Regions from separate parts of the Homo sapiens genome. Here all the other regions are linked to region 1. The links are contacts of gene promoters, found by promoter capture Hi-C in blood cells and fetal thymus (Javierre and others, 2016). All regions are on one chromosome and are shown on one strand. The core of a region is centred on a gene start or on the middle of the fragment in contact, and the rest is flanking DNA. Distances in the headings are between cores, read along the strand shown.

Region 1 (3,589 bases), core at 371-2,870:
GTTATCTAGGCTATTGCTTAGATTTAGTAGAAGTATAGGGTAATGGTTAAGAGTTTCAAATGTCAGAGACCCTCGGGGGCTCCTGACATTTTGGGGTCAGCTGTGTCAATTATTATCTGTGTGTCCTTCAGCAGTCACTTAACCTATCTAGGACCAACATTTTGGTACTTCATCTGCAAAACGAGAATAACTGCATCCTCCTCAGAGGGTTGCTGTGAGGACTACTGTGTGTCTGGAACACAGTTAAGTAATTTCACTACAAAAAAAAAAAATTAAATAGCATCATCTTTGACTATTCAAAACACATCACTTTTCAGCCAAAGACAAAGAGCAAATAACTGGAGTAGGAAACAAAATAAACGAAAGCAATAGGCCAAGTGATATACTTCCAAATTTTCTGGATAATTAAAGACCGACGCCTTGACTTCATAAAGAAGTACTGTACTCAATTTTCTAGAAAATGCTTAGAATTGCTTCAAGAATAAAAGTGAGCTAGATGTTAGGAGGTCGGATTCCTAGTCGTGAGTATAGTCCTATCTACCTATTTGACTACTGATAATTTATTTGACCTTTTTATCTATTCACACATCTAGTAATATCATATTCTGCTGTAATTTCTCTCCATCTATGCGTCTCCTCAGTCCTCCACCCCTTATGTAGGCAACGTCTCTAAGGCAAGATCCATACCTCCAGCATCTTTGCATCTCCACCGCCCAGCTCGCCATAAGTTCCCAACAAATAATGAATTGGTATCGCTTTACCTATAAGGGATTTATCCTAATCTAGTTCTAGTAATTTGTAAAATTCCAGGGCAGAAATTCAGCAAAAGAGCGAGATCTTCTTTCATTAAATTCTGAATACTGTCAACTTATGGGATCGATCCTTAAATCCACAATCTACGACTCATTTGTCCGTATGCAGAAATGCCGGTTTCCTTTGTGTCCCGTGGACCTTTTGTCTACTAGAAAAGGCAGATATTGCCTCATTTTGATAAAATGTCCATTCTACGGTTTAAAAGGTTAGCTTTTCTCTTAAGTCTCTTAGGTTTGATTCATCAAATCATCCAGTGAACAGCAGGCGCTCCAATGTTCACCTCTGCTGTGTAGGAACCAAACCCGACCTTCCCGGCCCCGCCTCCGACTGTCTCTAACTACGCGGTATCTCACCTCGTGGTCGCCGCAAGCCTCGGGCTCCGGGTGTACAGCGAACCCAAAGAGGACCTGCTCGTAGCAACCAGCGACCAGCTCCATTCAGCAGCGCACGTGCCTCTTCCGCCAGCCCGGCTCAGCCTGGAGGTGACAGAACCGGAAACCAAAAAAAAAAAAAAAAAAACACCTGACTCCTTTCTGCATCGGCGCTCGAATTATACGTCAGGCTCCAGGGCTGCCTTTAAGTCGCCTGTAACGTGGAAACACTTTAAGCGCGGGGAGGTCACATGGATTTTCCAAGAAGAGAATAAGTAAAGATGCCACATGAGGAGGTTCTCACTGCAAGGAGAAAAAAATCGGGGGCAAGCAGGCATATCTCAGGAAGGTGCCAGCTACGCCCGTCTGAAGGGAGCGGGCGGGACATCCTCTGCGAAGCCCTTCATTTCCGTGACATCAGGAGGAGGTGGGGCCGACTTCCGGCCGGTTGCTTAGGGGCTGTAGCGCCGGCAGCGTGCATTGTTGTGGGCTGTGTACTAGTAGGGTAGGAGTTTTTGTTCAGGGACCAGCGGAACGAGGCTTTCTGTCGTTAATAGGGTAAGGAGGGGTGGGATTAGGGTTCGCGGTGACTTGTTCCAGCGGCGCAGCGCTCGCGCTGCCTTGACGGACTCGGAGTGCTAGATGTGTCCGCGTTCCCGTCTGCCCGGGCCAGAACCCCAGCCCTGCACACTTTCTCTGTCTGCTTGTCTAACTCTGGGGCTGTATTGGCCAAGGTTGCGGCACCTCCTGGGGAGGGAGCAGTGAGCCTTCATTTTTTTTTTTTTTTTTTTGAGACGGAGTTTCGCTCTTTTTGCCCAGGCTGGAGTCCGGTGGCGCGATTTCGGCTCACCGCAACCTCTGCCTCCCGGGTTCAAGCAATTCTCCTGCCTCAGCCTCCCGAGTAGCTGGGATTACAGGCATACGCCACCACGCCTGGCTAATTTTGTATTTTTTAGTAGAGACAGGGTTTCTCCATGTTGGCTAGGCTGGTTTTGAACTCCCGACCGCAGGTGATCCGCTTGCCTCGACCTCCCAAAGTTGCTGGGATTGCAGGCGTGAGCCACAGCGCCCGGCCAGAGCCTTCATTTGAGAGTTGGGAAAACAAAGTGAGCCTGAGCAACATATTTTGATGCCGTCTCTACAAAAATGTTATAAATTAGCCCAGCATGGCGACGCCCGCCTGTGGCCTCAGCAACTCGGAAGGCTGAGGTGGGAGGATTGCTTGAGCCCAGGAGGTCGAGGCTGCAGTGAGCCGAGATCGCTCCACTGCATTCCAGTCTGGGGGACGAGCCAGGCCCCCTTTCAAAGAAAAAAAAAGTTTTATTTAATAAGGTTTAGAGATTCAGGTATGTCTTAGACATTACAGCTTTCCTACAAGCTCCCAACAGAGTAAATCTTGGTTCGTATAGTTCTCATAAACACCGTAGTAGGTCATTTGGTAAACAAGATGCATAGTCCATCCTTCTCAAATCTTCAGCCTCCATTTCAAGTGCGATACAGTGCTTCAGCGCTTAGACCCTTTTGTTTCCAATAACTTTTCTTCTCTGGTGTTCTGAATTGTTAGTACGTGTTAATAGAGGCTAGTTTGGGTCTTGCAGAAATGATTTCATTTGGGATGCTTTGGTTGTCACTGCAGTGCAGAAAAGACCTTGTTATTGTTAGAAATAGATAATTGGTGACACGAAGAAAAGTCAGCATGGAGACAAAAGATCTCTCAGCAAGGCAATTTTTACTTTATGCAGAAAGGGTGCTCAATTGCAGATGGAACGATGGTGAGAGCACTCCTGAACAAAGGAAAAGCAGACATATTTGTCCCTTACGCCTTTGGGTTGTCCTTACTGCTGTGTCCTGCATCCGTTGGCTGGGGCTGGACCTCATAATCTTAAACTGATACCCGATTTGCTAAACAGGCTGTGAGCTGGAACGTGCCTGGGCCTGTGAGCATGTCCCGCAGTTACATACAATAGGGCTTAACAGAGTTATTAGCACAAAGCAAGGAGGCTTGAAGTAAGTTAGTCTTTAAAAGAAACTATTGTTTCTAACATTTATGATTTATTCTTTAACAAGAAGGGAAACTTTGAAGAGGCAACTTTTTACTTTCTACGTCATCTGCCAGCTTTGTCCACGCCAAATGTAAACACTTCTCAAGACACTGAAATGCTGTTGACAAACTAATTCTCAGTCTAGTGGAAATCCTTGTATTCATTCACTCTTCCAAAATCTTTCTTGGCTGGGCACGGTGGCTCACTCCTGTAATCCCAGCACTTTGCGAGGCCTAGGCAGGCGGATTGCTTGAGGTCAGGACTCTGTCTCAAAAAATAAAATAAAATGGCCAGACGCAGTGGCTCACGCATGCCTGTAATCCCAGCACTTTGACGAGATCAAGAGATCGAGACCATCCTGGC
Region 2 (3,589 bases), core at 764-3,263, 2.8 Mb after region 1:
AAAATTAGCCGGGTGTGGTGGCAGGTGCCTGTAGTCCCAACTACTCAGGAGGCTAAGGCAGGAGAATTGCTTGAACCCAGGAGGCAGAGGTTGCAGTGAGCCAAGAGCATGCCATTGCACTCCAGCCTGGGTGACAGAGTAAGAATCTGTCTCAAAAAAAGAAGGCAGTGTAGCAATACTATTTTGCTAGAAGTAGTACTAACTTCTAACAATACAGACCAACATACCTATTGCCTTTTCTGCTTGGGAAAGGCCATGATTTTGAGGGGGGTCTCTCTCAAGCAAGCCATCCTCTGAGGGTAGACAAATGTGACTTTTCATCCATTCCTTCATGCATTCATTCAACAAACAGGTATCGTATTAGTCTGTTTTTGCGCTGCTGATAAAGACATACCTGAGATTGGGCAATTTCCAAAAGAAAGAGGTTTACTGGACTTATAATTCCAAGTGGCCGGGGAGGCATCCCAATCATGGCAGGTGAAAGGCACGTCTCACATGGCAGCAGACAAGAGAAGAGAGCTTATGAAGGAAGTCTCCCCTTTTTAAAACCATCAGATCTCATGAGACTCATTCACTATCATGAGAACAGTGCAGGAAAGACCTTGTCCCCATGATTCAATCACCTCCCACCGGGTTCCTCCCACAACACATGGGAATTGTGGGAGTTACAATTCAAGATGAAATTTGGGTGGGGACACAGCCAAACCATATCAGGTATTAAATGCCTGCTGTGTACCAGACATCACGTAAACACCTCTCAGGCCATGGGGCTTACAGTTTAGAGGGAAAGTCCGAGGCTAAACAAAATTCACACAACCAAATAATTACCCTTCTGTGAAGGGATATGGGGAGAAAGGACAAGATATTAGTGCAGGAAGCCTAACCCCAGCTGGAGGTCAGGGAATTTTTTACTGAGAACATTGTATTATTTCATCGCTGTACACAAATTCAGTTGTATCTTCACTTTTAGGCTTTCTGAGCTGGAAGCCACGCTGCTTGGCGATGGGAATCTAAGCAGGACCATGTGTGGCTGCTACCATATGAAGCAACATGTCAGTCCCTTGGGAGGGCTGGGAGTTCAGAGGAAGTGACGCTGAGCAGCCTGTGTGGAGGGGTGGCCGGGTCATGCAGGAAAGGCCGCATGTGAGAGAAGGTGCCAGGCACAGTGAGTCAGTTTGTTTTGGTGGAGCCTGGGAAAGAGATGTGGTTAGAAAGAGGGGTTCCTTCATCCAACACTTGTTGAGCCTCAACTGTATCCAGGCATTTGGGTGCTAGGGAGAGAGAAGTGAATGTGGCAAATAGCCCCTGGCCTTCGGGGAGCTTATTGATGGAGAAGACGGCCACCTTAACCAGCTAAGTCTGCAACAAAATGGCATCAAATGACAAAAAGTGTTATGCAGAAATTAAACAGCATGGCACTGGTGAGAGCTCAGTGGGCAGAGGGAGGCTGCTGCAGAGAGGGGCTTTGACTTGTCAATGTGGAAAGGCAATCGCCAGGCACTGAGGAGGTGGCGTGGGGGCAAGAGACCTGAGGGTGCAGGGAGTCCAGTCACAGAAGACAGGAAGGGAACAAGCACAGGGCACCACACACAAGGGCCTGAGAAGGGGAATGCTGGGAGGGTATCTAGAATCATCCCTAATGGCTAGAATCTAGGCGAGCAGAGGGCAGAGTGGTATGGGTTGAGATTGCATCTTTCCTGAAGGCCCTTGCAAGCCAAGGCAAAGAGCTGGAATTTGACTGTATGTGAAGGGAAGCCCCTGAAGGAAGTTAAGCAAAGGAGTGACACGATTCAATTCTAGCTGCTGGATGAAGGATGGATGGGAAGGACTTAAGAGTGGAAACAACATTCAGGAGGCTACTGTAGCAGACAGGAAGAGAAGGATATGGCAGCAGTGGAGAGATATCAGTCAGTGGGAGCTGTGGCTCAGAGATGGCAATGATTGGACTTGCTGATGGGGAGATCGAGTAGGAGGCGGGGATCAAGGCACTGCAATAAAGAAAAAGGGTAACAAAGTTTACAACTCAGAGGTCGGGGGTGGTGGCTCACACCTGTAATCCCAGCACTCTGGGAGCCTGAGGCAGGCAGATCACTTGAGGCCAGGAGTCTGAGACAAAGTTTGCAACTCAGGTTTCTGGTTTGTGCAACAGCGAGGAAGAACTATTTACTGAGGAGGGGAAATCGGAGGACAAGCAGATTGCTGCAGGGAAGCACAAGGTCAGCTTCAGCACACCTGCAGGACAAACAAGAGGAGGCATCCTGTAGATAGTGAGAGCTCAGAGAGAGGCCTCGGCTGCAAATGTACACTTTGGCAGCAGCATATAGATGGTGTTAAAGCCATGGCTATGGATGAGATCACCTAGGGAGTGATGCAGAGAAACAAAAGTGGGTTGGAGGCTGAGCGCTGAAAACTGACATCAAAGGTTGGGTTGAAGAGACTGAGGAGTGACGTGGGGATGGTAGGAGGTAGATCAGAGAAGCAGAAAGGACGGTGGATGCAGATGGGGCCAATGGCAGTTGTACCAACGCTGCTGAGAAGCCCAGGAAGATGAGGAACATAAAGTGTTCATTTGACTTGTCAATGTGGACATCTTCAGTGACTTTGAGAAGACTTGGTGTGTGGCAGGTTTGAGAGTCAGAGTGGCATGAGCTGAAGGATGAATGGAAAGTGAAATACAGATAATTTTTTTTTTTTTTTTGCTTATACACTGATGAAAATGGTCCAGTAGGAAGGAGTGATGAGTAACTTGTGCAGGAGAGAAAGAGAGGAGCTGAAGAACAAAGCCTTTGAGCAGGGAGCAGGGAGGGCATATGAGATTCCTAGGGCTGCTGTAACACCACACTCTTGGTGGCATAAAACCACGTACGTTTATTCTCTTACAGTTTTGGAGGTCAGAAGTCCAAAACCAGTTGCACTGGACTATAAATTGTCCACAGGACTGCAGGTCCCTCCAGAGGCTCTGAGGGGGAGTCTATTTCCTTGCTTTTTCCAGCATCTAGAGCTGCTTTTCCTGGCTCTTGGCCCCTTCATCTTCCAAACCAGCAGTTTAACATCTTCAAATCTCTTTCTGCTTTTGTTACGTCGCCTCCGGCTGTGTAGTCAAATTTCCTACTGCCCCTCTGTTATGAGGACACTTGTGATCACATTTAGGACCCACCGAGATAATCCAGGGTAATCTCTCCAGCTCACGACCCTTAATTTAATCACACCTGCAAAGCCTTCTGCCATATAAAGAAACAATCAGATGTTTCAGGAATTAGGACCTGGTTATCCGTGAGGGGCATTATTCTGGAGGACTGGGCTTTGCTAGGCAGGGATATACTGACTTGCTCCTTTGTGGGCAGAGGGAAAGGCGCCTGTGCAGGGGTGTGTAGATTTGGCGGGGGAGGGATAAGGGAGCTCATGCTTTTGGCTTCATTTTTCTCAGAAACATGAGATAAAGCTGGCAGCTGAGAGGATGGCGACTGACAGGGTGGGGTGGGGAGAGGAGAGGAGGAGCAGTGTCAGTGGAAGTATGGAAGCATCTCAGAGAGTGGGGCAGCACACTGCCTAGGCAGAGGTAGTCAGTTTTAGGGCAGGGGTGAGGAGG
Region 3 (3,589 bases), core at 784-3,283, 2.6 Mb after region 1:
CCCGGCGTCCTTAGGCTAAATTCCTGCAAGAGAAACTGCTAGGCTAAAAGCTATATATTTTTAAAGCTATGTTGCTCATTTGTCCTCCAGAAAAGTACATTATTATAGTATCATAGCATATAAGAGTGGCCTCTTCCACAAAACTAACATGGTATTACCTCTTTCTCCTTCACTACCCCAATTTAATTACCAAAACAAGAAAATTTAAAAATTATTCGTTTGAGGCCGCATGCGGTGGCTCACGCCTGAAATCCCAGCACTTTGGAAGGCCGAGGCAGGCAGATCACTTGAGGTTAGGAGTCCGAGATCAGCCTGGCCAACATGGTGGAACCCCCATCTCTGCTAAAAACAGAAAAATTAGCTGGGCGTGATGGCACGCACCTGTAGTCCCAGCTACTCAGGAGGCTGAGGCAGGAGAATCACTTGAACCTGGGAGGCGGAGGTTGCAGTGAGCCAGGGTCACTCCACTGTACTCCAGTCTGGGCAACAGAGCGAGGCTGTGTCTCAAAAAAAAAAATTATTTGCTTTTTTTTTTAATACAATTATTAATGTGTCGTTTTCATACTGCTTATTAGCTATTTTATTATTTTTAAAAATTCACTTACATGTATTCCTTGCCTGTGTTTGTACTGGGCTGTATAGGTTTTTATTATTTATTTTTAAAACTCTTCCTTTTAGGATATTATGAAAGGGTTTAATTCTTATTTGTCAAAGTGCCATTTCAGTGGTAAAACCATAAAACCACAATGCTAAGTTTAAATGCCTCATAAATAAGGTAGTATATAATTTCAAAAAGCAGGCATTACAAAACACTAACATTTGTTGAGTCTAGATGGAGGGTATATAGTTGTTTATTTTACTGCTTTTTCAACTTTTTTGTATTATTAGAAAATTTAATAGATGGAAGGAAAAAGAAAAATCAGGTGGAATTGTAGGGGAAGTATTTAACAGTTTGACAATGGCATCAGAAAGAATTGTAAAAAAAAAAAAAAAAAAAGGAAGCGAATGTCAGACATAATTAGTTCTCATCTGTGAATATTTTGAATGTGTGTGAAACTCTGTCTTTTGGTAGTAAAGATTTTATTTATATCATGAACCCAGAAAATATTACCTAATCATAGTTTATAAAAACTACATTTTTAAGAGTCTTGGCCGGGCACGGTGGCTCACGCCTGTAATCCCAGCACTTTGGGAGGCCGAGGCAGGCTGATCACGAGGTCAGGAGTTTGAGACCAGCCTGGCCAACATAGTGAAACCGCTGTCTCCACTAAAAATACAAAAAATTAGCCAGTCATGTTGTGTGCCTGTAGTCCCAGCTACTCAGGAGGCTGAGGCAGGAGAATCGCTTGAACCCTGGAGGCAGAGGTTGTGGTGAGCCCAGATCACGCCACTGTACTCCAGCCTGGGCAACAGAGTGAGACTCCATCTCAAAAAAAAAAAAAAAAAAAAAAAGCAGTCTTTATCACTAAAACACAAAACACGGATATAGATTCTGTTTTTGGAAAAAATATACAAAACTGTTATTGTTTCAGGTCTTTAAATACTTCTTGAAATTAAATGAAGATGTATTTATTTTATTTGAAATTTAATGAAGATATTTTATTTCTTGTACTTTCTCAAAGTTGATTTCTCTGAAGATATTTGGAGAGAAATCATCTCCATTCAACAGAGTACCATAAAATTTAAGTGGTAGTCCCTAATATACCAATACATTCTACCCTTTCCAGCCAAATTTTATTTTGATTCTTCCATGCCTGTCTCATTTGTGTCCATATTCCTTTATGTTCTTATCTGTACCACCTTTAGGGGCTCATATTCATATACCATTTTGAAAATGACTGACTGTCTTTAAATGAAAATCGTCAGAGAAAATGTGTTTACTCTTTATTAAGTGGAAGTAGATTATCATAAAGGTCTTCATCATTATCTTCATGTTGAGTATGTATCATGTTAACTTTGTTTGCAAACTCAAAGAGATTAAATTCAATTCTGCAAACATTTTTTATTGATTGCTGAACCACTATATTCTGCAAACATTTTTTACTGATTGCTGAACCACTATATTCCAGATACTTTGGGATGTTGCTATGGTCTGAATGGTTGACTCCCCCTCCCCAAATTTATATGTTAAAATTCTAACCCCCAAAGTTATGGAGTTAGGAGGTGGGGTCTTTGGGGGTGATTAGGTCCTGGAGGCAGAGCCTTCATGAATGGAATTATTGCCCTAATAAAAGGCCTGAGAGAGACCTCACCCCTTCCACCAAGTGAAAAGACAGCTGCCTGTGAACCAGGAAGCAAGCCCTTACCAGACACTGCATCTGCCATCACCTTCATCTTAGACTTCCAGCCTCCAGAACTGTGAGGAATAAATCTCTTTTGTTTACATGCCACCCAGTCTATGTATTCTATTATAGTTGCCCAAGTGGACTAAGACAGATGTGATTTGAGAATCGGAACAAAATGCCCTCTCTATAGTTTAAGGAATTCTTCTAGAATAAATGCTGTTCATCACTGGACAGTTTTTTATATCTAGTCCTTAGAGGAGCCTCAAAGAATATTTAATAATAGTTCATATAACTCATTTACAAAACCTTTCTCTGAAGGTTTTATGAATCTGTTGTTTCACTTAATTGACTATAATTCAATGTAAATTCCTGTTCTGCTAAATTAAGTGTTAATTTTAAGAGAAGCCAACATTTTCCATCTCAGGAAATTGACGTATTCATGCTGTTCTGCCAGAAAATACCTCTAACAAAAGTAAAAATAGATAAATTGGACTATGTCAAAATTAAACATTTCTGGACACAATCAAAGGAGACAACAGAGTGAAAAGGCAGCCCATAGAGTAGGAGAAAATATTTGTAAATCATATGTTTGTTAAGGGGTTAATATTCAGAATATGTGAAGAACTCCTACAGCTCAGCAACAAACAAACCCAATATCCTGATTTCAAAAGTGGCAAAGGACTTTAGTATACATTTAGCCAAAGAAGATATACCAGTGGCCAGCAAGCATATGAAAAGATGCTGGAATCACTAATCATTAGGGAAATGTAGATCATGTTTACAGTGAGATATCATCTCACACCCATTAGGATGGCTACTACCAAAAAAAATCCCACAGAGCAACACAACATGTGTTGGTGAGGATATGAAGAAATTGTAACCCTTGTGCATTGTTGGTGGGAATGTAAAATGTGCAACTGCTATGAAAAGCAGGAATAGCACTTCCTCAAGAAATTAATGGAATTACCATATGGTCCAGCAATTGTACTTGTAAGTATATACCCAAAAGAATTCAAAGCATGGTTTTGAAGAGATGTTTGTACGCTCCTGTTCACAGCAGCATTACAGTAGCCAAGAAGTGGAAACAACTATGTCTATAGACACAGGAATCGATAAAATATGATCTGTACATACAGTGGAATATTATGCAGCCCTAAAAAAGAAGGAAATCCTGACATGTGCTGCATGCTACATGGAGGAACTTTACATTCAGTGAAACAAGCCAGTCACAAAAGTACATATAGTCTATGACTGCACTTATATGAGGTATCTAAAGTAGTCACATTCATAGAAACAAGGTAGAA
Region 4 (3,589 bases), core at 798-3,297, 2.6 Mb after region 1:
GGGAGGATATTTTAAAAAACGGACCTACACTTCGTAGCATAAGAAGCAGACAATGGCCGGGTGCGGTGGCTCACGCCTGTAATCCCAGCACTTTGGGATGCCAAGGCAGACGGATCACGAGTTCAGGAGATCGAGACCATCCTGGCTAATACGGTGAAAACCCGTCTCTACTAAAAATGCAAAAAATTAGCCGGGCGAGGTGGCAGGCGCCTGTAGTCCCAGCTACTCAGGAGGCTGAGGCAGGAGAACGGCATGAACCCGGGAGGCAGAGCTTGCAGTGAGCCGAGATGGCACCACTGCACTCCAGCCTGGGTGACAGAGCGAGACTCCGTCTCAAAAAAAAAAAAATTATGCTACATCTACTCTTGTATGGACATACTATGTTTATTCATTATCAGATGATGGACATTGAGTGGTGTTCACTTTTTGGCTGACCCTTATATTGCCCATAAAATAGAATTTGGGGGACTTCAGGCATCATCCAATCCAGAAGCTTCTAAATTTGTTTTTAGCAGTGGCACTGTTCTTTAAAATAAATGTTCTCATTGCTGAAATTGGGTAATCAGTAATAAGGGTTCATTATGTTATTATCCCTACTTGTGTGTATATTAATTTTCCATAGTATTTTTAAAAGATTACATTGAAATTTAATATGTAAAGCAGATTGAATGTATGTAGTTTAAAACTGCAAAGTATTCTTCCAATATTTTGCATACTTGCAACGAATCATTTCCAAAGAATCTTGGCAGATGATCTCCAATTTCTTAAATACTTGCAATGACAAAGAGTACTCTAACTTTGAGGCAGTCACAGTTGGATAGCTCTGTCTGTGAGAAAATAATGTTTATATTGATCCAAAATATGCGCCTTATAACTTCGAGTGGGAATCAGACAATTCCTCCACCATGAAAGTATTTTTATCTTCTTTATTTTTATTTTATCTAGTGCCTTTTCAAAGAATGCCAAATAGCTGGCAGAGTTTGGTATTCTGTATCACACTAACATATGCTACACAGTCTGCTTGAGAGATGTTAAGGGCTACGTTCCCATCTTCTGGGTTAAAAAGATATGAGCAAAATATTTAAGCAAAATTAAGATACCTGCAGGCAAAATCTGACGAAGTGTTGCACATTGTGCTACATAATAGACTGAGATTTTTTTTTAATATCATGGTTCTCCCCAGTTTCACCTGCCTGTCAGCTCTACATCATTTGTTATTAATTTAACACCAGAGAACCTGGGAAAAGCTGCAAGCCAGTGAGCATACACAAATCAGGCACAGAGATGGCAAGTGCTCCTTGGAGATGCTTGTTCACAAACTTTAAGGGAATTTGAAAAATGCCCACCAATTTGCAGGATGCTTGATATGAAATCAAAGAAAGTAGAGAAACGCAAGTTACAACTGCCTGATTTGACTGCAGAAACTGACAGTAAGACAGGAGCAGCTAGGTCATCTGCAGAATTCCACGCAGCACTGTAGGAACACACCTCTCTCCTCCTGACTCCCTTGGCATCTTCCTCCTTAATAACAAGGGACCTATTCCCAGCATCAGCTGATTCTAAGACACACACATCTATGTGCATCTCAGCAGGATGAATTGGAGGAGGAAGGGCATCTAGTTTGCAGACTCATTTTTACAGCAGTACCCCTTCACTGAAAATTACTTTGGGCCGGCTGAGAGTGGTGGCTCATGCCTGTAATCCCACACTTTGGGAGCCTGAAGGGGGTTTGGGGGGGGCTGGATCACCTGAGGTCAGGAGTTCGAGATCAGCCTGGACAACATGGTGAAACCCCGTCTCTACTAAAAATGCAAAAATTAGCTGGGTGTGGTGGCATGGCCCTGTAATCCCAGCTACTCGGGAGGCTGAGGTGGAAGAATTGCTTGAACTTGGGAGGCAGAGGCTGCACTGAGCCGAGACTGTGACACTGCACTCCAGCCTGGGCCACAGAGTAAGACCCTGTCCCCAAAAAATAAAAAAATAAAAAAAGAACTACTTTGGACCCTACAGTGAAAATTTATATAAAGCATGTTTGTGCCCAGTTAGCCAAAGCCCAGTTTCAGATGAGTAGTCTTCATCCCAATGTTCAAATGCCATTTTAATCTCAAAAAAAGCCTGAAAGCAAAATTTTTCAATGTGAAAAAGACCCTCATCTACTAAAGTTCCTCATAAAAGTCCATCTACTTTCATCAGTATATGTATTATATATGCTAGTGCATTTATATAAGACAAATAATGTTGACCATATATATCCACATTCGCTGAAAGCCAAGGATTAAACTTAAAAATTGGCACTGATCATAATGTTGCAGCAACTGACTAAATGCTCACCAGACCACTTCCCTCTTCTTCCCATATCCATCAGGTTTCCTGCAGGAAACAGAATCTAACTCTGATGTTTCAAGAGGCTCTAAAGAAAGGACTAGATATAGAAGCATGGAAAGGATTAAGAAAATCAATCCGGGAAGTTGAGGTGCCCAGGGACTAGCGAGAATAGAAAGCCATTACCACTTCTAGGTTACCAACTGCTCTCAGATAACACAGCCTGTTTTCTGGTCATTCCACCAATAGGGTACAGACTTCCTCCCAATCAATAGATCAGATATGGAGACTAATGACCCTCCTTCATGCACCAAGAGGGTAAGAAAGAAAGTCTATTACTAACACACAGAGCACTTCTGGGGAAGGGCAGGTGCAAGCTGTCATGAAGCTGTGGGGTTCAAACATCAAGAGGTCAGGAGCTTGGGGTGGGGAGTTCCTTACATGAAGTCCCAGATGTATGATGGTGGGCAGGGCAAGGGTGGATGGAGGCCTAAATGCTGTGAACAGTCAAACATCACAAACGGAGTCAGACTCTACTGCACAGCCAAATGCAGGAAGGGAGAAAGGCAATAAATACTCCAAACTCATGCTCTCCAATCTCTTAACTGTGCCTCTCACACTGAACCTATCTGGAAGCCAGAAGGTAGGAGACTCTGGGTAATGTCATCCACAGACTCAGTCTTCTGTGTCAAAGAGCAGGGCCAAGGAGAATGGGAATAAAACTGGGGCACAGGTGCAGAATAACAAGCAGACTGACGGATCAGATCACTTCACTCAGCCTCCCTTTAGCCAGGTGTGTCTTCCTGACTGAGTTTCAGCCAATGAGATCTGGACAGAAATGATGTGCAACATTTTCAGACCTAGCCCATAATACCTAGTGTAGTCCTCAACGGTCTCCCTCTTGCCTCATCTATAGTTCAAATGACAAGAGCCTAGGGCCCAGAAAGGGACTTTGAAGCCTTAGAGGATGATGAAATCACTAGACTGGAAGTCTGAGTTCCCAAGTGACTGGCAATCAGAGACCCACATTGAACCATGGCATGAGTGTTCTATGTGCTAAGCCTCTGAGACAGTGGAACTACTTGTTATCAAGACAACTATAACTAATACATACATGAATGTTATAGAGAAAGAAAAAGTCTAAAGTGAACTGAAGTTTACAAAAGATTCTAAGATAACTCTTTAAAAGCCATTTTAAAAATTATTAGCAGAGAAAGGCCATGAGAGAATAAGTTACCAACTTGGGACCAAAGTTATCAACCTTCGT
Region 5 (3,589 bases), core at 492-2,991, 2.6 Mb after region 1:
AAGGAGCTGACGGATTATTAGCCTGACACTCTCCATTTGCTAAACGTACAGAACAGATTCATTACCTTTGTCCCCCCGCCCCTTAACAGTATGGGTTTGATTGCCCTCTTGCCTACAGGTAATTCTCCATCAAAATTAAATCCGTCCGCTAGTTCTCAATTTTATAAACTATGCAGGCACAGGGAGAGAGGAGGTCGGGCGGAGGCTCGTGCTGGGTGGGAGGAAGGTTACCTTTCCCAGGGCCACAACGCCAATCCAAAATTCTTCTACTCCTAGAGCTCTGAAGATGCCTGTATTCACGGTCCCATAGTGACACCAGCTGGTCAGATTCCAAAAAACAGCTTAGATGGAGAGGAAATGGCTCAGCCCCCTGCACCGTGCTCAGATGATAAATATACAGCCCTGGCCTCTTGACACTCTGCCTGTTCCAGTTTAAATGACATATGCCATATAAGGCATAAATACATTTATAGAATAAATACACAATACAAAAATGTGTAGATACTTTGGCTGTTACAAGCTCCTCTTCTCTTCCCCAAAAGATCAATGACACTGTTGATGCTTAATTGTCAACCACCATTTTCCTCCCTAGCAATTACACACCCAGTCCTATGAGCTGGCGCAGACTAAATCAGGGGAGGTCCTTGCCAGTTTACCAAGGTAGGGAAGGTTCGCCATTGGGAGAGAGAATGAGGCCTGATGTTCAGTTTGTATGTGACAGATGGAGAAGACGGATTGTGAAGACCAAAAACACCTCTAGATTTGTCCATTTCAGAGCTGCTGGAGCTCCAGAGTCTCTCTCCTGTGAAGACTTCTTCCCCAAAATGCGGCCTTGGCGATGTATTCACGAAATATTCATTTTGGCTCCTGATTTTTTATTCGTCATCTTGTAGTCTTTTTCTTTTCCTTTCAGGAAAAGGCTTCTTCAAATTGTATAAGCTTCAGACTTTGAAAAGCTGGGATCCATACCTGCAATAATGTATATACTAGATGTACTGGTACAAACGTTGGATACCTACTATATCCTCAGCACTGTGCTGGGTGCCGGGACATGTGCAGGAAAGGAGCAGGAAGCTTCCTACTCGATCAGTTAACCACACCAGCACATAAAATAACTAGCCAGCGTTGCAATGCAATATGTAATCAAAGACTAAATTGTGTAATCCAAATTATGTGCACAGTAGCCTGGAAATTCACAGGGGGAAATAGAGGTTATTAAAGGATGTGAAGCAATTCTGGAATGCTTCACTGAAGAAGTTTTAAGTGGAGCCAGAAAAGTATGGGAGAAAGGAAAAAGAAGTAACTAATCAAGGGGGAGAAGGGGGAGTGAAAGCCTCGAGGTGGAAATGAGGTTGTTTTGTTTTGTTTTGTTTTGTTTTTTTGAGACAGAGTCTCACTCTGTTGCCCAAACTGGAGTGCAGTGGCATGATCTTGGCTCACCTCCACCTCCTGGGTTCAAGCAATTCTCCTGCCTCAGCCTCCTGAGTAGCTGGGATTGCAGGCTAATTTTTGTATTTTTAGTAGAGGCAGGGTTTCATCATGTTGGTCAGGCTGGTCGCCAACTCCTGATCTCATGATCTCATGATCCACCCGCCTCGGCCTCCCAAAGTGCTGGGATTACAGGTGTGAGCTACCACACCTGGCCAAGGGAATTCGGTCATTTTTAGTGAGGAAGAATGAGAGCAGCTTGACAGAACCAAGCTGCACATTGGAAAGTAGTGGGAGACATTGGACTGAATGAGATGGGAATCCAGCTACCAAGGACAAGGACAGCCCCTCAAGAATTTTGACTTGACTTTGAGATCTCAAGTGAGAAAAACCACACAAAGGTAACTCTGCTGGCATTTTACACAATGATTACGCACATTTTTCTAATAACTTGCTGGAAATAGAATGAGCATTGCAGCACCATCGGACAGGTGCCTTACTCATTGGAGATGTCTGGACAGTGCTGTGATCATCCTCGCCAGCTGCAGCAATAGCACCCTGGGTCCTGCAGCCAGAAAGAAGGATCTGATCATCACCTCGTCCTCATGCTGTGCTGAGGAGCCTTGGTGCACAACTATTGGCTCGTTTTGGGCAGGACAGGTAAGTCCCAGCTGCAGAGCTTATGACACACAATTTTTACCTAAACTTCTAACTTTTATCCACGATACCTACTCCCCTTTCACTGCCTTCCTAACTTCTTGGCTCTTAGAATGTCCCAGCTTCATGCTCTTTTTAAATACCTGTATAAGAAATCATGTCTTTAAATAAGTAGAGGGTGCTTTTCGTGTTACCATGTAAAGGTTTTGAAATAGCCCCTGAAAAAGACATAAATATCTCTCTTAGCAGCCTATCAAAATGCCAGACTTCTCGGCATTTCGTGTCATTTCCTGTGGATTAACCCAATATCAATGTCAAGCTTCTTGAAGACAGAAATGATGCCATTTCCTAGCATTTCCCAATGCCTCGAATTTGCCTAGCAGGTAGGAGTTGCTCCATAAATGTTTGTCGGATGGACCGATAGATGGATGGATGGGTGAGTGGGTGGGTGGGTGGATGGATGGATCTTTGGTTGGATACATTTAAAGTAAAATGAAACATCCTGGCTAACACGGTGAAACCCCATCTCTACTAAAAATACAAAAAATTAGCCGGGTGTGGTGGCACGCGCCTGTAGTCCAAGCTACTCGGGAGGCTGAGGCAAGAGAATTGCTTGAACCTGGGAGGCAGAGGTTGCAGTGAGCCAAGATTGCACCATTGCACTCCAGCCTGGGCGACACAGGAAGACTCTGCCTCAAAAAAAAAAAAAAAAAAAGTATAATGAGAAACTGGAACTATGTATGTGTTGGTTCTGATAGGCGTGGACCCATCCCATTGTCATTGTTGTCAGGATCTGGATCAGCAAGACATTGGCCAACTGGGACAAAGAGAAGAATAAGACTCAAAAACTGATGGGAAGAACCAAATACTACTGAAGACCAACTTCACTGCTCAAAGTGGCCTGGTGCCAGTCCTTTTCAGGAATTAAATGAAACTGCAGCTTCACTGAACCACCTCACAATTCCATTTGCAGACAGGAATGCCCCAGCAGATCCCAACAGGATGCTCACCCCATGGAGGGACAGAGTGGGTTGATCCAGCCCACTAATAATGCTAACATTTCTACAGCGCTTTCTTAGGTGCCAGGCTCTGTTCTAAGTGCTCTACTTACATTAACTCCTTTAGCCCTCATGACTAACTTTACAGGTGTGTAGTACTATTTTAGAAATAGTCCATTTTACAGTTGAAACGCTGGAACACAGAGATGTGAAGTAGCTTCATCCAGGCTACACTCCTAGTATGTGGTAGGGAAGGGAATGCCACAGGGAGCCTGGGCTTTGATACCAGGCTTTTCCCCATCTGCCATGCTGCTCTTGGGTCCCAGCTAAGGGTAGAACAAAGATAGAGGGCCTCGGGCCAGGCGCAGTGGCTCATGCCTATAATCCCAGCACTTTGGGAGGCTGAGGTGGGCAGACCACGAGGTCAGGAGTTCCAGACCAGCCTGGCCAATATAGTGAAACCCCGTCTCTACTAAAAATACAAAAAAATTAGCCAGGCATGGTGG
Region 6 (3,589 bases), core at 489-2,988, 2.3 Mb after region 1:
AACTGTAATATCCTAAATATACTGCTTATTATTTTTCATCAAAGAATACCTTGTAACATTATTATTAATTAGTATAAGTTTCTAATTAAGGAGAGTGCTCAGATTTGTCTTGAAGAGGTTTTTAAAGTTAAAATTTTCTCCCCGGCCAGGTGCAGTGGCTCACGCCTGTAATCCTAGCACTTTGGGAGGCCGAGGCAGGTTGATCACCTGAGGTTAGGAGTTCGAGACCAGCCTGGCCAACATGGTGAAACCCCGTCTCTACTAAAAATATAAAATTAGCTGGACATGGTGGCGGGCACTTGTAATCCTAGCTACTCAGGAGGTCAGGAGGCTGAGGCAGGAGAATGGTTTGAACCTGGGAGGCGGAGGTTGCAGTGAGCCAAGATGGCGCCACTGCACTCCAGCCTGGGCAACAAGAGCGAGACTCCGTCTCAAAAAAAAAATTTTCTCCCCATTTCTAAGGAAGCAAGCAATTGATGTATTAAATAAAATAGAAATAGTGAGTATCCTGGAGGCAAGCTGATCAAATCTAATTTCTTCATTATACCAATGAGAAAACAAAGACCTAGAGGACTGCTCAGAATTTTTTGAGCTCCTTTTGGAGCTACTTTTGGATTTAGTTCCCCTGTCAGGCTGGTTTTCTTTCTACCTGTACTGTGCTACTTTTCTACTCATTCCTTGTAATTCTTCTGACTTGAATTTTTATTTTCTGCCAATGATTTGCCATTTATCTTTGAGAAAATCTGACCACCTTGACTTGTATCATTTTACCTGGCGAAGTGGTGCTCCACCATCACTGATGATATCCCAATGAGGGTCAAACCCCATGGATGGCATGAACGCATTTACACTGATGCATATGGGCATGCCAAGTTGTTTCCACGTGGATTTTCATGGTTAACTACTATATTAGTAGTTAAGTAGAAAAAAACCCCTCAGAATCGAATGTAAATGATGCATTTTAATTGACTTTTTCCAGTAAATTATTTTACCTTATATCTAACCATATATAAGATGAGAAATTTTGTTGCCTTGATTTCAATGTGAACACAAATTCTAAAATGGAAATTACATCTAACTCTCCAGCATTATCAGTATGAATAGTGCCTGATTGTGTCTGTGTTCGTCATACCAGTAGACAAGATTATTAGTTTAGACCATTAAATATCTAGTCAAAGTGAGCATATGCTCACAGTAATGGCTCAAAATTCTGAAGATGCTAAATTAAGAATCTCCTTTAGGAACTTTAGATAGAGCCAAAGTTAAAAGACTTGAAATCATGAGAGAGTCAGATACCTCATCTTAAAAGTTGATTATTATAACATAGAATATAGAGAGATGATCTATAAGATATTATAATAAAAATTACATCTAGGGTTTTAAATCACATGAACTTTTCCTAGAGAAAATCTTGGGTTATTTTAGCAGAATGGATAGATGTATTTTTCCTAATGCTAGATGGAAACATTAGGAAACAGAACAACAATTCAAGAGTTAAAAATTAGTTTTAAAATGTTAAGGTACCTTTTACCATTATGGAGGCCAACATTAGCTGGGCATGGTGGCGCACACCTGTAGTCCCAGCTACTCAGGAGGCTGAGGCAAAAGAATTTCTTGAACCCGTGAGGCAGAGGTTGCACTTAGCTGAGATCATGCCACTGCACTCCAGCCTAGGCAACAGAGCGAGACCTTATCTCAAGCAAACAACAACAAAAGAAGCTCTTTTTCTCTAACTTAAGATGGTTAAGATGGTTTTTATTTGTGGCTAGAACTGCTGTTAAAAAAAAAAAAAAAACCTTTTGTCAACATTTATACCTTCAGTAAAAATCTAAACTCTTTTTTACATAATTGAGTGGCCTCGTTTATGATTGACTAAATAAAGGTAAATTGTTATTTTTATAAACTTTTTTATACAAGAGCATTACAGTTTTTAAATAGTGATATTTTTTACTGATATTTCCAGAAATAGTAACCAGAAATTAGAAAAGTAATTAGACATTTACACAATGTGAACACATTATCTTTTAGTAGTATGAATTGGGTCCCAAAATGAAGGTTTTAAAAATTGTCTTTTACAGAATACCAGGAAAAACCTACATGATAATAGCTTTTCTAACTGTGGGTACTATGGGGTTATCAAACACTTCCTTGGGCTACCTGAATTACCCTACCCAAGTCATCTTCAAGTGCTGCAAATTGATTCCTGTTATGCTAGGAGGAGTTTTTATTCAAGGTATAGTAATGATATGTTTTTATACTATTTAAAACTAATAGGCTATGTTATGGCATCTAGCATTAGGAAAAACATTAAACTTCTATTACATTTTCAATGAGCATTCTAGATATTGTAACAATTCTGAATTATGTCTTACCAAAATAAGGTATTCTAAAAACACTGATGGCCAGGCACAGTGGCTCACGCCTGTAATCCCAGCACTGTGGGATGCCAAGGTGGGCAGATCACAAGGTCAGGAGTTCGAGACCAGCCTGGCCAATATGGTGAAACCCTGTCTCTACTAAAAATACAAAAATTAGCTAGGCATGGTGGTGTATCCATGTAGTCTCAGCTACTTGGGAGGCTGAGGCAGACGAATTGCTTGAACCCAGGAGGCAGAGGTTGCAGTGAGCCGAGGTCACACCACTGCACTCCAGCCTGGGCGACAGAGCGAGACTCCATCTCAAAACAAACAAACAAACAAACAAACAAACACTTATATGCCTTAGTTTCTGAAGTCAGTAATTTGGACTTAAGAAAAAGAAAAGATAATACTTTGTTTTTATTATTTTATTTTGGAATCTACCACATTTCCAGCAATACTATATTTACGTATTAAAGGTCTAGTTCAAAAGTACGTGGAAAGGTCCCTTTTTTCAGTTCCTTCATTCTTCTACTCTCCAGGGGTCTACCCTTCACTTCCATTGTGCATGGGCAGTTCTCATATTGAAGTAAAGTTTAATCTGAGCAGAACTGCGTTTTTACCAACCTGCTGGCTTTAGTGATGTTTAGAGCCCCAGCTAAGTGACAAGTTTTGTGGAAATACGAGTAAAAGAGGAGGCAGTGATAGCAACAAACAGTGGAAGTAGCTTCTGTTGTTCACATTAATTGTCACGAGGAATATTCGTGTTTTAATAGTCGGGTGTTTCTGTATCACTGAAGTTCTTATACAGCCTGATATCATTTATGCATTAGATACCATCCCAGAATAAGCCTTTAAAAATGAAAGTGTTGTCAACTACTTCACGTATCATTTCAGGATAACTTCATATAGGAAAAAATAATTGACCTCAATCCCTATTAAAAATCACATTTATTGTCCCAACTGACTAGGCATATATAATATTGTCGTTATAAACCTTACAAAAAAGTCATACTACATTTTATTTTTAAAATAATGATATATGAAAATAATTTAATTTTCACCTGCCTGGAAGTTATCACATTATGATATTTGCAAACTTAAACAGTTATGTAACCAGACTCATTAATCTGGTTACTTCGTAAATTTACAAACTACGAGAAAATTCATAACCTTTTATTATGCACAAAGTAAAACAGGAACTAAATTTCCAGGAAATTTTTTAAATGTTT
Region 7 (3,589 bases), core at 285-2,784, 2.3 Mb after region 1:
CCTCCTCAAACGGGACTATAAAATCTGGCACATTCACTGCCAGCTGGTCTTTTCTGCTCAGAAGACCCCTCTCTATAGAGAGAGCTGTTTTTCTTTCTCTTTTCTTCTGCCTATTAAGCCTCCACCCCTAAACTCTTCATGTGTGTCTGTGTCCTAAGTTTTCCTGGTGCAAGACTACGAACCCCAGGTATATACCCCAGACAACATAGCCGCTTCAAAAGGAATGCAGCACTGTTGACCATTTGATTACATCCCAGTGAGGCTCATTATGTTTGTATGTAATGTATGTATGTATGTATTTAGTAGAGATGTTACTCTACTCTACTCTCTATGCTACTCAGGCTGATCTCAAACTATTGTCCTCAAGCTATCCTCCCACCTCAGCCTCCCAAAGCTCTACGATTATAGGCATGAGCCACTGTACCCACCCAAAACCCACTTTGAAATTCTGTCCTATAGAACTGTAAAATAAAAAAACTGTGTGGTCTTCAAGCCACTAAGCTTGTGGTAATTTGTTATAGCAGCAATAGAAAGCTAATACAGTTACTTATATACACAAGACGGACCAAAGTAAACTAATACAATTAAACATCCCTAATCTGAAAATCTGAAATCTGAAATGCTCCAAAATCCAAAACTTTTGAGCACTGACATAATATCACAAGTGGGAAATTCCACACATAAGTACTTAACACAAACTTCGTTTCATGTACAAAGCTATTAAAAATATTGTTTAAAATTACCTTCAGGCTATGTGTATAAGGTATTTATAAGGCATAAATGAATTTTGTGTTTAGACTTGGGCCCCAGCCTCAAGATATCTTATTATGTATATGCAAATATTCCAAAATTTTTAAAAAATCTAAAATCTGTGAAACACTTCTGGTCCCATACATTTCACATAAGAGATACTCAACCTCTAGAAAGGACGGAGAAAAAGAAATAGTGATAACAAATAATTAGAGTTTTATTGAAAGGAAAAGAAAGGAGGAGGGAAAATACTGATTTGTGAAAGAAACTGAGTTCACACTTAGGATGACTACAGGGTTATATCACTGCATCCAATGTCGCTAACAAGCAGTTTGAAAAATGAGAATAAAGCATAGGTGAGCAGTTAATTACACAGATATAGAGGACAAGTCCGTAATCTTAAATTAAATTGATTTCCTGAAGAGGAGTTTATACAAAAGATCAGGAAAACAGAGACTGAAACATGAACATTTTGAGGACAGGACAAGGAACAGTGAGGTAGGAGAACCAGTCAGTGCAGCAGTACAGAAGTCAAGAAAGAACAAAGTTGCAAAATGCAGCTGGTTCTCAAAAGTTCTAATTGCAGCTGTAGAGAACAGGCCTAATAAATGTTTATTTAGGTTGAACAATTAGTGACATAAACCCTTCAAGACTTCACAGTAGAGGAGTGGAGGAAGTTAAATGCTTATCTTACGTAAAAACAAGCTTTAGCAGTTCCCACCCACTTGCTCCTACATCCCTGGGAGCCATCTTTATTTTTACTCCACACCCACCTGGCCACAGAATTTAGCCTTCTTTAAATTCATCTGAAATAATGCACCTATGCAGGGCATTAATGAACAATGCAGATTTACTGAAGCTTTTTAAGAATATGAAGTGGTGGAATTATAAATCACAGCCTCCATAAAACAACTTAAATACTCCAGTTAGATACAGAACCTATAGTCTCCCAAAAGCTCCCTTCTCAGCCATACCACACTGGTGATTCCCTTTATTCTCTCCCTCCTTCATTTGTTTGTTCTTTCTTTCTTTCCTTCTTTTTTCTTTTTTTTTTTTTTGAGACAGGTCTCACTCTGTCACCCAGGCTGGAGTGCAGTGGTGTGATCTGGGATCACTGCAACCTCCGCCTCCCAAGCTCAAGGGATCCTCCCACCTCAGCCTCCTGAGTAGCTGGGACTATGGGCATGCATCACCACACTCAGCTGATTTTATTTTTGTTTTGTTTGTTTGTTTGTTTTCTAGAGGCAGGGTTTTGCCATGTTACCCAGACTGGTCTTGAACTCCTGGAATCAAGAGATCTGCCTGCCTTGACCTTCCAAAGTACTGGGATTACAGGCAATGTGAGCCACTGCGCCCAGCCTGGATTTTCTCTAGCACTTTAAACTTCATCACCTTCCAAGTGGTGAACAAGAATTAAAGTGCTCTAAAATTCCATTGTCCTGAGTGGTAGATAGTAGTCATATGTGCTACTCTGAGCACTTGAAATGTGGCTGGTCCAAACCAAAATATGCTGGAAGTGTGAAATACACACTGGATTTCCAAGATTTTGTATAAAAAAACAGATGTTAAAGTATTTCATTAACAACTTTTTATATTGATTGCATGTTGAAATGATAATATTTTGGTTATATTGAGTTAAATAAATATATTATTAAAATTAATATCACCTTTTTTTTTTTTTTTTTTGAGACAGAGACTCACTCTGTTGCCCAGGCTGGACTGCAGTGGCATGATCTCAGCTCACTGGAACCTCTGCCTCGCTGGTTCAAGCCATTCTCCTGCCTCAGCCTCCTGAGCAGCTGGGATTACAGGTGCCCGCCACCACGCCCTGTTAATTTTTTTTTATTTTTAGTAGAGATGGGGTTTCACCATGTTGGCCAGGCTGGTCTTGAACTCCTGACCTCAAGTGATTCGCCTGCCTTGGCCTCCCAAAGTGCTGGGATTAGAGGCATGAGCCACCACACCCGGCCTCATTTCACCTTTTTAATGTAACTAGCAGAAAATTTAAAGTAGCTTCCATGGCTTATATTATATTCCTATTGGACAGCACTGTTCTGGAAATAAAAAGAACTTCATGTTAATAAGACTAACCCTCCATGGAAGGCAGTTTAAGAATAATCTTCTAAGAGGCTAATCGAATTACTTCTTACAAAAAGAAAACAAAACACAGAAACTTTGACCAAAAAGGGATTCAAAAGCCAGGTGTTAAACGAGCAAAATATTTCTCCATCTCATTACACATGCTACCTCTTTATGAAGAATTTTGCCCCATGCCAATTATCAGTACTGGGAAAGAAGAGGAGTCATGGCTGGTGTCCAGGTGGCCCAGTTCTGTGAACCTCTATCCATTTAGGAGACAGCAGAGAAAAACTGATAGCCCTGGAAGTCAAGCAACCTACAGGGGAACTGAATCTATAACCACAGCCTCATTAGCATAGCCTATAGCTCCCATTGCATCCTGTAGTTAATACCCTTATCAACACAAATCACACTATAATTACTTGTGTAATTAATTATCTCCACCACACAAGGCTGTGAGCTTTGTGAGGGCAGGGATCCATGTCTGTCTTGTCATCCACATATCCACAATACCCAGTAGCATGCAGAGTAAGTGCTCAATAAGTATTTATTAAATGGATATTTAATGAAAATCAAATTAACTAGTTTTTCTGCTCAGTGCATCTGGAACCATATATCTATCAATGAACTTCCTAGTTTGGAAATGCTATATAACCTATTCCTTATGGAAGAGCTAGAAAAGTGACAACTGATGACTATATATAAATGGATTATTCTAATGATAGTAGGCTATATTAATAAGAATATTAATAGCTAACTT

Evidence for each region. Contacts are between HindIII fragments. The CHiCAGO score rates a contact against its expected background, and 5 or more counts as called.
Region 2: a contact is called between a fragment that was not itself captured here and the fragment with the promoter of C6orf52 in region 1, in 1 of 17 cell types (non-activated CD4 T cells). The highest score is 5.9, in non-activated CD4 T cells.
Region 3: a fragment that was not itself captured here is called in contact with the fragment with the promoter of C6orf52 in region 1 in 1 of 17 cell types (total CD4 T cells); the score reaches 6.6 in total CD4 T cells.
Region 4: a fragment that was not itself captured here is called in contact with the fragment with the promoter of C6orf52 in region 1 in 4 of 17 cell types (activated CD4 T cells, naive CD8 T cells, total CD4 T cells and 1 more); the score reaches 7.6 in activated CD4 T cells.
Region 5: a contact is called between a fragment that was not itself captured here and the fragment with the promoter of C6orf52 in region 1, in 1 of 17 cell types (naive CD4 T cells). The highest score is 6.4, in naive CD4 T cells.
Region 6: a fragment that was not itself captured here is called in contact with the fragment with the promoter of C6orf52 in region 1 in 1 of 17 cell types (non-activated CD4 T cells); the score reaches 5.4 in non-activated CD4 T cells.
Region 7: a contact is called between a fragment that was not itself captured here and the fragment with the promoter of C6orf52 in region 1, in 2 of 17 cell types (naive CD8 T cells and activated CD4 T cells). The highest score is 9.0, in naive CD8 T cells.

Annotation. Positions count from the first base shown.
Region 1 is chr6:10,692,647-10,696,235 of GRCh38, reverse strand. C6orf52 (chromosome 6 open reading frame 52) reads left to right here and starts at 1,620. Exons shown (of 5, transcript NM_001145020.3): 1 at 1,620-1,742. It overlaps PAK1IP1 (PAK1 interacting protein 1), which reads right to left and starts at 1,264. Exons shown (of 10, transcript NM_017906.3): 1 at 1,167-1,264. The coding sequence starts at 1,250. RefSeq lists enhancers at 1,237-1,616, 1,046-1,648, 1,657-1,706. The HindIII fragment of the contact is 16,030 bases long and covers 1-3,589 here.
Region 2 is chr6:7,913,134-7,916,722 of GRCh38, reverse strand. The region is part of intron 4 of BLOC1S5-TXNDC5 (BLOC1S5-TXNDC5 readthrough (NMD candidate)); the gene reads left to right. Among named protein-coding and RNA genes, the nearest start is that of TXNDC5, 4.1 kb to the right of the region's middle. The HindIII fragment of the contact is 5,683 bases long and covers 1-3,589 here.
Region 3 is chr6:8,090,733-8,094,321 of GRCh38, reverse strand. The region is part of intron 2 of EEF1E1 (eukaryotic translation elongation factor 1 epsilon 1); the gene reads left to right. The region is part of intron 2 of EEF1E1-BLOC1S5 (EEF1E1-BLOC1S5 readthrough (NMD candidate)); the gene reads left to right. Among named protein-coding and RNA genes, the nearest start is that of EEF1E1, 10 kb to the left of the region's middle. The HindIII fragment of the contact is 8,691 bases long and covers 1-3,589 here.
Region 4 is chr6:8,110,640-8,114,228 of GRCh38, reverse strand. No RefSeq gene overlaps it. Among named protein-coding and RNA genes, the nearest start is that of EEF1E1-BLOC1S5, 9.8 kb to the right of the region's middle. The HindIII fragment of the contact is 3,104 bases long and covers 496-3,589 here.
Region 5 is chr6:8,128,179-8,131,767 of GRCh38, reverse strand. No RefSeq gene overlaps it. Among named protein-coding and RNA genes, the nearest start is that of EEF1E1-BLOC1S5, 27 kb to the right of the region's middle. RefSeq lists an enhancer at 377-426. The HindIII fragment of the contact is 1,330 bases long and covers 1,077-2,406 here.
Region 6 is chr6:8,421,114-8,424,702 of GRCh38, reverse strand. It overlaps SLC35B3 (solute carrier family 35 member B3), which reads left to right. Exons shown (of 10, transcript NM_001370479.2): 4 at 2,079-2,233. Among named protein-coding and RNA genes, the nearest start is that of SLC35B3, 13 kb to the left of the region's middle. The HindIII fragment of the contact is 4,738 bases long and covers 1-3,589 here.
Region 7 is chr6:8,440,215-8,443,803 of GRCh38, reverse strand. The region is part of intron 2 of LOC100506207 (a long non-coding RNA gene); the gene reads right to left. Among named protein-coding and RNA genes, the nearest start is that of SLC35B3, 6.5 kb to the right of the region's middle. The HindIII fragment of the contact is 154 bases long and covers 1,458-1,611 here.